Linked DNA regions of Homo sapiens: region 2 is linked to region 1. The links are contacts of gene promoters, found by promoter capture Hi-C in human tissues and cell types (Jung and others, 2019). All regions are on one chromosome and are shown on one strand. The core of a region is centred on a gene start or on the middle of the fragment in contact, and the rest is flanking DNA. Distances in the headings are between cores, read along the strand shown. Region 1 holds the start of CLN3 (CLN3 lysosomal/endosomal transmembrane protein, battenin). Region 2 holds the start of SULT1A2 (sulfotransferase family 1A member 2).

The links. The method cuts DNA at HindIII sites, captures the fragments that hold promoters and counts their contacts. A contact is called where the count stands out against the background at its distance.
Region 2: the fragment with the promoter of SULT1A2 here is called in contact with the fragment with the promoter of CLN3 in region 1 in 2 of the 25 tissues and cell types used here (mesenchymal stem cells and small bowel).

What each region holds. Positions count from the first base shown.
Region 1 is chr16:28,490,161-28,495,229 of GRCh38, forward strand. CLN3 (CLN3 lysosomal/endosomal transmembrane protein, battenin) reads right to left here and starts at 1,914. Exons shown (of 16, transcript NM_001042432.2): 1 at 1,860-1,914; 2 at 1,554-1,675; 3 at 1,322-1,400. The coding sequence starts at 1,599. APOBR (apolipoprotein B receptor) reads left to right here and starts at 4,483. Exons shown (of 4, transcript NM_018690.4): 1 at 4,483-4,578; 2 at 4,939-5,069. The coding sequence starts at 4,522. RefSeq lists enhancers at 1,796-2,585, 1,925-2,124. The HindIII fragment of the contact is 23,586 bases long and covers 1-5,069 here.
Region 2 is chr16:28,593,419-28,598,450 of GRCh38, forward strand. SULT1A2 (sulfotransferase family 1A member 2) reads right to left here and starts at 3,632. Exons shown (of 8, transcript NM_001054.4): 1 at 3,579-3,632; 2 at 2,365-2,516; 3 at 2,132-2,257; 4 at 1,949-2,046; 5 at 24-150. The coding sequence starts at 2,512. RefSeq lists an enhancer at 3,570-3,864. The HindIII fragment of the contact is 13,947 bases long and covers 1-5,032 here.

The sequences.
Region 1 (5,069 bases), core at 664-3,163:
GGCGGGGCACGGTGGCTCACGCCTGTAATCCCAGCACTTTGGGAAGTGGAGGCAAGCGGATCACCTAAGGTCAGGAGTTCTAGACCAGCCTGACCAACATGGTGAAATCCTGTCTTTACTAAAAATACAAAAAATTAGCTGTGTCTGGTGGCACGCACCTGTAATCCCAGCTACTCGGGGAGCTGAGACAGGAGAATAGCTTGAACCTTGGAGGTGGAGGTTTCAGTGAGCCGAGATTGTGCCACTGCTCTCCAGCCTGGGTGATAGAGTGAGACTCTGTCTCAAAAATAAAATAAAATTAAAAAAAAAAAAAAAAAAAGCTGGGCGCGGTGGCTCACACCTGTAATCCCAGCACTTTGGGAGGCCGAGGCGGGCGGATCACGAGGTCAGGAGATCGAGACCATCCTGGATAACGCGGTGAAACCCCATCTCTACTAAAAATACAAAAAAATAGCCGGGCGTGGTGGCAGGCGCCTGTAGTCTCAGCTACTCCGGAGGCTGAGGCAAAAGAATGGTGTGAACCTGGGAGGCGGAGTTTGCAGTGAGCCGAGATTGCGCCACTGCACTCCAGCCTGGAGGACAGAGAGAGACTCCGTCTCAAAAAAAAAAAAAAAAAAAAAGGTTCAGGCCCGGCATGGTGGCTCATGCTTGTAATCTCAGCACTTTGGAAGGTTGAGGTAGGAGGATCACTTGAGGCCACGAGTTTGAGACCAGCCCAGGTCCCATAGTGAGACCCCCATCTCTATAAAAAAATATAAAAATTAGGCAGATGCGGTGGTGCACACCTGTAGCCACACCTACTTGGAGGCTGAGGTGGGAGAATCACTTGAGCCCAGGAGTTCCAGGCTGCAGGGAGCTGTGATTGCACTACTGCATTCCAACCTGGGAAACAGAGCAAGACCCTGTCTCAAAAAGAAAAAAAAATAAGATAAAATAAAATAAATTAAAAAAATAAAAAAGTTTTAGTAGTGATGCATTTATTTAAACGTTCACTAGGAAAACGCTGGTTTTCCAAGTGGAGTCGTGATTTAAAGTTTTCTTTTTAAAAATATGTGCACTAAAAAACGTTAAGGCTGAATTGGCTGGAAGAAAAAAGTAAATAATCCTACAGGTGGTAGGTATGAGGATCTTGCTAAATCCGGAAGGTGATAAGGAGTGAAGTTTGGAAATTTTACATGCTGCCCCTGGGGCAAACCAGTGGATTCAGTAAATATTTGTGGGTTCAGCTCCTTTGCGCAGCTTAACTCTTTCTTCCCCCTTTCCTCCGGTCACTTCCCTCTTCTCATGCCATTGTCACTCGCTGAAGTCTCAGGCCACTCACCAGAAGCCCACCGCGTTCTTCCAATGCGCGCCCTGATGGTCCAACAGAGGGAGCCGGGGCTCCGGGACGGTCTCCTCCCCTGGGAGAGCGAGAAGAGGGCATGACCCCCACCTACTCTCAGGTGCACGACCGCTCCTTGCGTGTCCTCCCGGGGCCGAGTCAGCTCTCATTCCCCTCAGGTGGGCTGCGAGCCAGAGGTGGTCGTTCCATGAGGGTGGGCGGGAATACTCACCCTCGGAATCCGAAAAGCGCCGCCGCGAGCCTGCACAGCCTCCCATCGCATCAAGTTCAGGTCCCCCGAGGGTCCAGGGTCATAGAGTGTCCAAAGGGGGCTCCCACGGGAGGGATGAGGGTCTGCGACAGGTGACAAGGATCAACGCCCGATTGCCGGTCCCAGCTCCGGCTTGTCTAGGGCACTCGCGCCCCGCGATCCATCAAGGAAGCTGGGGGCTCCATCTCGAGCGCCCTACGACCCACCACGCCCCACCCATCGTACTCTCCCCCGCCCCGTCTACAGCAGGGACCCTGAGGCCTGTACCTTTAAGAGCAGCAGAATGTTCTGCACTATGCAGAGGCCGTTTGTCGGATCACGTGACAGCACCCGCGTGTTCCCCCATCACGTGCTCAGAGGTTTTCCCTACTTCCGGGTCCTCTCTGTCTTCGCTTTGGGCCTTCTCGGCTTCGGAGCGTGAAAAAGGGAGGGGCTGGAGAACCCTGGAACCGCAGGTTTTAAACTGGAGCGGGTGGGAGCAGCAAGCAGAGCCGTGACCTTAGATCAGTGGCGCCCAAGACCGAGACAGTAGCCTGCCAGCACCAGTTATGACTGTGGGAGGCTTCAGCTCCTTTCCTTCAGCACTCACTTGCCAGAAACAAATATGGCCACCTGCCTACTCCCTTTTTTTTTTTTTTTTTTTTGAGGCAGGACTGTTTCTGGTTGCGAACAAAGACGACCAGCTTCAGGTCATTCTTATCCCCATCTGTTGACCTTACAAATTGTTTTAGAGACCTAAGTAAACATAACACTCATCTAAAGGGATTTCGTGAATGATCTATTGGCAGTATCCAAGATGTTAAGAGATCCCTATTTCCAAATTATCCTAGAACCAAAAAATATCACAGCACTTCAACCCCTGGTGTTACAGATGAGAAAACCAAGGTACAAATATATATATATATATATATAACAAAATTAGCCGGGCATGGTGGCGCATTCCTGTAGTCACAGGTACCTTGGAAGCTGAGGTGGGAGGATCACTTGTGCCCAGGAGGTTGAAGCTACAGTGAGCTATGATCACGCCACTGCACTCCAGCCTGGGTGACAGAGTGAGATCCTGTCTCAAAAAAAGAAAAAGTAAAAAATAAAATAAAAAAAATATATGTATATGAAAAAAATTGGAAAGTTGCTGACAATCATTCATACAATGTTAGACCTAAAGGTGACCTTAGAGACCTGTATGGTGATAAGAAATAGAGCACCAGAGGCAGGGAGCCATTGGGTTGGCTCCAGGCTGCTGCAGGATTCCTGCCTCCATCAAAGGTGGTGCTTAGACCAGATTTTTTTTTTTTTTTTGACAGGGTTTTGCTCTGTTGCCCAGGCTGGAGTGCAGTGGCAGGATCTTGGTTTGCTGCAACCTTGACCTCCCAGGCTCAGGTGATCCTCCCACCTCAGCCTCCCGAGTAGCTGGGACAGCAGGTGCGCACCACTGTGCCCAGCTAATTTTTGTGTTTTTTGTAGAGACTGGATTTTGCCACGTTGCCCAGGGTGGCCTCAAACTCCTGAGCTCAAGCAATCCACCTGCCTTGGCTTCCCAAAGTGCTAGGACTACAGGCGTGAGCCACTGCACCTGGCCAGACTAAATGATTTTAAGGCCTAAGATTCTGATGCTGTGATTTCATAGAATTGCCCTAATTGGAATAGGAAAGTGGGGCTGGGGAGGGGAGAAGGAGGGTATGGGGAAGAGAAGTAGAGCAAGGTCACTTTATGTAGTTCCAAATAAGGAATCATACCCTTACCTTCTTCTAGGTGGAAAGCGGCATCCTGCATTCTCTTCTTGTCCTTGGCCTCATCTCTGCTATGGGCTGTGCCACCTCTATATGCTCTTTCTCACCACCAGGCCTTCAGAATGCAGTTGGAAATGTGCCCTCTCGTCTGGGTGTGGTGGCTCATGCCTGTCATCCCAGCACTTTGGGAGGCCAAGGTGGGCAGATCACCTGAGGTCAGGAGTTCGAAACCAGCCTGGCTAACATGGTGAAACCCTGTCTCTACTAAAGATACAAAAATTAACCAGGTGTGGTGGCACGCACCTGTAATCCCAGCTACTCGGGAGGCTGAGGCAGGAGAATCACTTGAACCCAGGAGGCAGAGGTTGCAGTGAGCTGAGACTGCGCCACTACACTCCAGCCTGGGTGACAGAGTGAGACTGTCTCAAAAAAAAAAAGAAAAGAAAAGAAAAGAAATGTGCCCTCTCTAGTGTGCCTCCCAGGTCACTCAGCTGATGGAAAATGGAATCCTACTAACGTGCAGGGCTCTAGAAATTCAGCAGCGTTTCATACATGGCATCTGCCATCAAGGAAGTCACAGGAAGGTGGGAGGCAGACACAGATATCCACAATATAAAGTTTAGCCAAGTTCTTTTTTGCAAGCCTAATCATAGGTGAGGGGATGCACCCCAGAGCCACCAATCCGGCCCCTTCCGCCCCTGGGGGAAGCATTAATGACGCCGAAATGTGTCAGAGCTCCCACCAGCCCCCTCTTCACTGCTACTCTTTCTTCCCAGGCAAAACAGGAACCACAAACCCCAGCTTCCTCTTGCAGAGTGGCTGTGGCTTGTAGGGGAGGCAGAAATGGCTGAGGTGCGGATACGAGACCTGAGTCACTTGAGCTGCTGTTGCCACATGTCCCCTCCCTCTCCCCCTCCCCAGTTCTAAGGTCTCCTGCTCCCACTTTGTCCTTTCTGGCCTCTTGCTTGTCCTTTATTTCCAAATGTGCACCTGAGTCCCCTGTGTGATGTACACCCATTTCCCGGGCTGCAGTGGGGGCTACTGTGGGCATCAGGGGCCGTGGGCAGGGCCTGGGGTGGGGACGCATCAGGGAGACAGGGGAAGAGGAAGTGCCTTTGGTCCTGGGGAAGGTTGGCTTGTCTTGGTGGGTGGGGACGGTCATTATCAGCTTTCTGGACACACAGACAGAGACAGACAGGATGGACTTCCTCCGGCTATACCTCCCTGGGCTGCACCAGGCCTTGAGGGGGGCACTGGTGAGAAGGGCAGACAGCTGCCAGATACTTGCACCCCATTCCCTGGGGCCTCACTTCCGGGCACCTCCCCTGGGGCCTCACCTTTCCCCTCCTCCTTCTGATCTCCTCAAACTGGAGATTGCTTTCTCAGGTTCAGGCAGACTCCTGGCCTAATATTTTCTGAATTTCAGTCCCCACCTCCAACCATGCGTCCTCGTACCCCTAATCGATGCCCCTTCTGGCTCCTTCTGCAAATCCTCTTCTTCTCCTTTCAGATCCCAGTACCCTCTTCCTTAACCTGGGCTCCTCCAGCCAGGGCCCCCAGGGAAAGGGCTGGGACTCTCCTCAATGACTCTCCCCTCTCTCTCTCTTTTTTCCTAGGATTCCCTCGGCACCTTTGTCTCCTACCTCCTGGGAGATGCAGTCCCCACTGTAGAGCGGGAGGCGCAGGCGGCTGAGGAACTGGGGGTGGTGGCGGTGGGAAAGACAGGGAAGATTGTAGAGGAGGAAGC
Region 2 (5,032 bases), core at 2,382-4,881, 100 kb after region 1:
TTCCTTCCTCCCATCAAGCCCACCTTCTCCAGCCATGAACTTCTCCAGGAAGCTTTCCCAGGTCCCAGGGTGAGGGTACACTTTGGCCATGTGGTAGAAGTGGTAGTAGGAAACCGCCACATCCTTTGCGTTGCGGGCAACATAGACCACCTGCAGGGGCAGAAGACTCAACCCCAGCACCATCACCACACAGCCTGCCCCAGGCCAGCTCATCTCTTGGTTTGGCAAAGGAGGAAGCTGAGGCTTAGAGGCTGACTTGTTTGAGATCTCACGGCACAGGTAGGGCCAAGTCAGGATCTGAACCCTGCTCAAAAGCCAAAGTCCTGCCTGGTCCCTGAGACCATCATATTCTATAGTAATATAATCTGCATCAATGCGTCACACCCCGATCTGGAGCAAGGCATGCTCCACCAGGCATGTTCCCACCACCACCAAATTTTGTGGGCCTGTGAGGACCCACCCTCTACCTTTCTTAGGTCTACCCGGAAGAGTCTCATGTTTTTGGTCATCAGAGCAAAAGGCAGACAGTCCCCCCCGTGGAAGATGAGACAAGTCTGGAGGAAGTGAGGCGACTCTCCCAGAAGAACAGGACCAAAGCTGGGCTGAGCCGGGGCCTCCTTCCCTGGATTCACATGCCCCACACCTGGACCTTTGCTTTTTTCTTTTTGTTGTGGTTTTTTTTTTTTTTTGGGGGGGGGGACTCTAGGTCTCAAAAAAAAGAGAAAAGAGAAAAAAGACCTTGGGCTTTCTTTTTTCCTGTTGCCCAGGTTGGAGTGCACTGGAGTGAGAATAGCTCACTGCAACGTTGACCTCCCAGGCTCAAGCAATCCTCCAACCTTAGACTTTTGAGTAGCTGGGACTATAGCGCTATGCCACCATGCCCTGCTGATTATTTGCATCTTTTATAGAGATGGAGTCTCCCCATGTTTCCTGGGCTGGTCTGGAACTCCTGAGCTCAAGCGGTCCACCCATCTTGGCCTCCCAAAATGCTGGCATTACAGCGGTGAGCCACCCAGGTGGCAAACCTTTTAAAATATTTATTTGTTTTGTTTGAAACAATGTCTCGTTGTGTCTCCCAGGCTGGAGTGCAGTGGCACAATCTCGGCTCACTGCAACCACCGCCTCCCAGGTGCAAGCTATTCTCCTGCCTCAGCCTCCCGAGTAGCTGGGATTACTGGCGCCTGCCCCAACGCCTGGCTAATTTTTGTATTTTTAGTAGAGACGGGGTTTCTCCATGTTGGCCAGGCTGATCTCAAACTCCTAACCTTGGGTGATCTGCCCACCTCGACCTCCGAAAGTGCTGGTATTACAGGCGTGAGCCACAACAGGCCCAGCCCCCTGCCACCTGCCGCTTTTTTTTTTTTTTTTTTTTTTTTTTTGAGACAGAGTTTTGCTCTTGTTTCCCAGGCTGCAGTGCAATGGTGAGGTCTCGGCTGACTACAACCTCTGCCTCCCAGCTTCAAGCAATTCTCCTGCTTCAGCCTCCCAAGTAGCTGGGATTACAGATGCCTGCCACCATGCCCGGCTAATTTTTTTGTATTTTTAGTAGAGATGGGGTTTTGCCATGTTGGCCAGGCTGATCTCAAACTCCTAGTCTCAGGTGATCCACCTGCCTCAGCCTCTTCAAGTGCTGGAATTACAGGTGTGAGCCACCGCACTGGTGGGACACTCTTTCTATTCATCGTTTTTTGAGACAGTGTTTCTCTGTCACCCAGCCTGGAGTGCACTGGTGTGATCATAGCTCACTGTAGCCTTAAACTCCTAGGCTCAGATGATCCTCCCACCTCAGCCTCCTGAGTAGCTGGTATTACAGGCACACACCACTATGCACAGCTAAGTTTTTTTTTTGGAAGAGACTTATCTGGAACTTCTGGCTTCAAGGGATCTTCCCACCTCAGCCTCCCAAAGTACTGAGATTGCGGGTGTGAACCACTGTGCCCAGTCTCACCTTGACCTTCTGATCCAACAGAGTCTGGGGGAGCAGAGCCAGGGGCAGGTGTGTCTTCAGGAGTCGTGGGGCTGGTGTGTTTTTCAGAGTCTCCATCCCTGAGCAGTGGGTCAGGGAAGGTCTGGTGAGCTGAAGCCCCAGCCCTGTCTTCCTCCACTCCCCTTGCACCCAGGACACACACACCTGAGGGAATCCCTGGGACTTTGAACTCAAGGAAGGGCACCCGCATGAAGATGGGAGCTCGGTGACACTTTTCCAGGTCACCGCCCTGGTAGATCATGTCCAGAATCTGGCTCACCCAGGTGGTGCCTGGAGAGGGAGGGAGATGGGAGGTGAGCAGGCTGAGGTGAGCATGACCTCGCTGGCCAAGGTGGGGACTGCCACCTGGGAGAGGGTGGGTGGCCCTCCTCACCTACCGGACTTGGGGTAGGTGCTGATGAGCAGGTCATCAGGCCGGGCCTGGAAGCTCTGCAGGGGCCCCAGTGCCTCTGCAAAGTACTTGATGAGCGGGACCCCCTTCACGTACTCCAGTGGCGGGCGAGAGATGTCCTGGATCAGCTCCATGTTCCTGCGTCAGGGGCCAGAGCCAGGCCCGTTCCCTTACCACCATCACAACAGCAAGAAAGTGGAATTCTTGCTTTCAGGGAAGTCACTGAGGCCTAGGGAGGCTGAGTGACTTGCCCGCACTCACAAGGCCAGTCAGTGGCGGGGCTGGGGCTGAAAACCAGGTCGGGCTCTAATGTGGTGGTTCCCCAGCCTGGCCTCACCTTTCATTCACCTGCGGAGCTGTTCAAAATCCCAGGGCCTGGGCCATGGTGCAGACCAGTGAAAGCACCCTCGTGGCGCGGGGCCCAGATGTCAGGGTGTGTGAAGGTCTCCAGGAGAGTCCAGCTGCACTGAGGAACCTCTAGGACCTTCCTGTGCTGTCTTCCTGCCAGCCAGCGCCCTTTGTCTCACCATTTCCTGCTGGGACCCCCAGCCTCCACCCAGTAGGCTCCTCTCCCCGATGTTCCCCTCCTTGAGCCCCTCGGCCCCTCACATGTGGCAACTCCTAGGCTGGCCAGGCCTGTGATCCACTTGCCCGGCCACAGTCCATCTGGGCTCCAGGACAAACAGCCCATTGAGCAACTGAGCTGGTATTGGGGGCCAGAGCCTGATGTGGGAATGAGCAAAACTGTGATGACTCAGCAAAAGGAGGATCCTGGGCAGGGTGGCTCCCACCTGTAATCCCAGACCCTAGGGAGGCTGAGGCCAGAATTTGGAGACCAATCTGGGCAGCATTGGAAGACCCCATCTCTAAAAATCTTTTAAAAATATTTTTTAAAACTATCCAGGCAGGATGGTGAGGGTCTGTAGTCCTAGCTACTGAGGCAGGAGAATCACTTGAGCCCAGGAATTCAAGGCTGCAGTGGCCAGGATCCCACAGCACTCCAGCCTCGGTGACAGCAAGACCTGGCCTCCCCGGAAAAAAAAAAAAGGAAGGGAGGGGGATTCAGGCCGGCCGGGGTTGTCTGAAATGGGATATCCATGGGGAGAGGGCAGGGATAGCAGAGGCCTCGGCTTCTGGAATGTTGGAGCCACAAGCTGAGCAGGGTGAGGGCGTCCTGGGCCATTCCGGTGTGTCACTCACCTGAGCTCTTGGGAACCTGGCCTTGTGCCCTCCTCGCCCGCAGTGGCTGAGTGTGGGTGTTGTGTGGGGAATGCAGGGGTGTTGTCTGTGCTGAGGGTTTCTTAGGTCAGTGTGGGAGGGATCTGGAGCCGGGGCTGGACTTAGATTTGCTTCCGGAAGGAAGGGGTAGGGTTGGGGGTGGGGGAGCTTCTCTATTACCCTCCTTAGTTTGCCAGCTGGAGACAAGCTTAAAGTGATCTCCAAAGCCACGACTGGGTTTGGTGTGTAGAAAACAGAAGAATGAAAGGGGAAAGGGCCCAATGGTGGGTTTGTTTTTGTGGGTTTTTTTTTTTGAGCTGTCACTGGGCTCCTGACCTGCCCCTGAACTCCAAAAGACAAGCTTTCTCTAATTGACCCAGGCAAGAGAGGGGAGGGATTGGAGGAGAAAGATGGGATAGGCAGGCCCTGGAAAGGTCACCTACCTGCTGGCTCCAGGCCAGTCTTGAAGGTGCCAGGGGTCCTGGCCCAGTGCAACCCACAGGCCTCCAGCAGCCCATGCACTCCAGGCTCTGACCACAAGGCCAGTCTGGAGTGATGCGTGTGGGCAGAGTGAAGGGGCAGGGGTGGAGCAGAGCATGGATCCATAGAACAAGAAAGAACAAGGACACTGCAGTCCCATTGCCCTGGGAGCCAGCCCCAGCTTCATGGCTCCCTGGGGACCTCACAGAACATCGATAGAAGATCCTAGAAGAACCACAGCCCCTGGCAGGTACTTTTCTTTCCATGGGTTTGAAGGAGGCTCCACAGACAGAGGCCAGAGGAGGTTGAGGCTTGGAAGCCACAGGGCCCCGTGGAAGGAGTGCATCCCCCCACCCTCCTCGTTCTTTGTCCTCACTATTTAAAGTCCAGGGTCAAGCTGGGCACGAGACAGGTAAACAACCATCTGAGTAAAGGTGAGTCTCCCAAGCCTTCCCAGGGTTGCGTGAGCTCAGAGGCAAGCGGGGAAAACTGAGGCATGGGATTTCCAGGCAGAGGAGAGGCTGCTCCCCTGCTAGGGCCACAGGCCCCTCCTCCCTCCTCTGTGCCCCTGAGGAATCCCCATGACTGGCAGGTCCTCCGGCTACTAGCTCCACCCCTGCCCTCAGCAACCTTCAGGAGGCCCTCTTGACTGAGACTTTGTATTGCACTCTAGTGAAAACCAGCCGGACCAGCAGGGGGTGGCACAGAAAAGAGGCGAGAATGTGAGATTAATAGAGTGCTAGCAAGACAACAGAAAATCCCAGGCAGCAGTTTCACATGACCAGAAGAAGGAAACTTGAAATAGCTGCATGTGCCAAGGGCCAATAAGTCCCTGAAAAATAGGATGAGGACCAAGCTGGCTGCGACCAACCAGAAGCAACATGGCGCTGTATTTGATGTAGGTTTCACCTAGGATCTCACTGTACAATCAGTAACATATGAAACCGTACACCCAC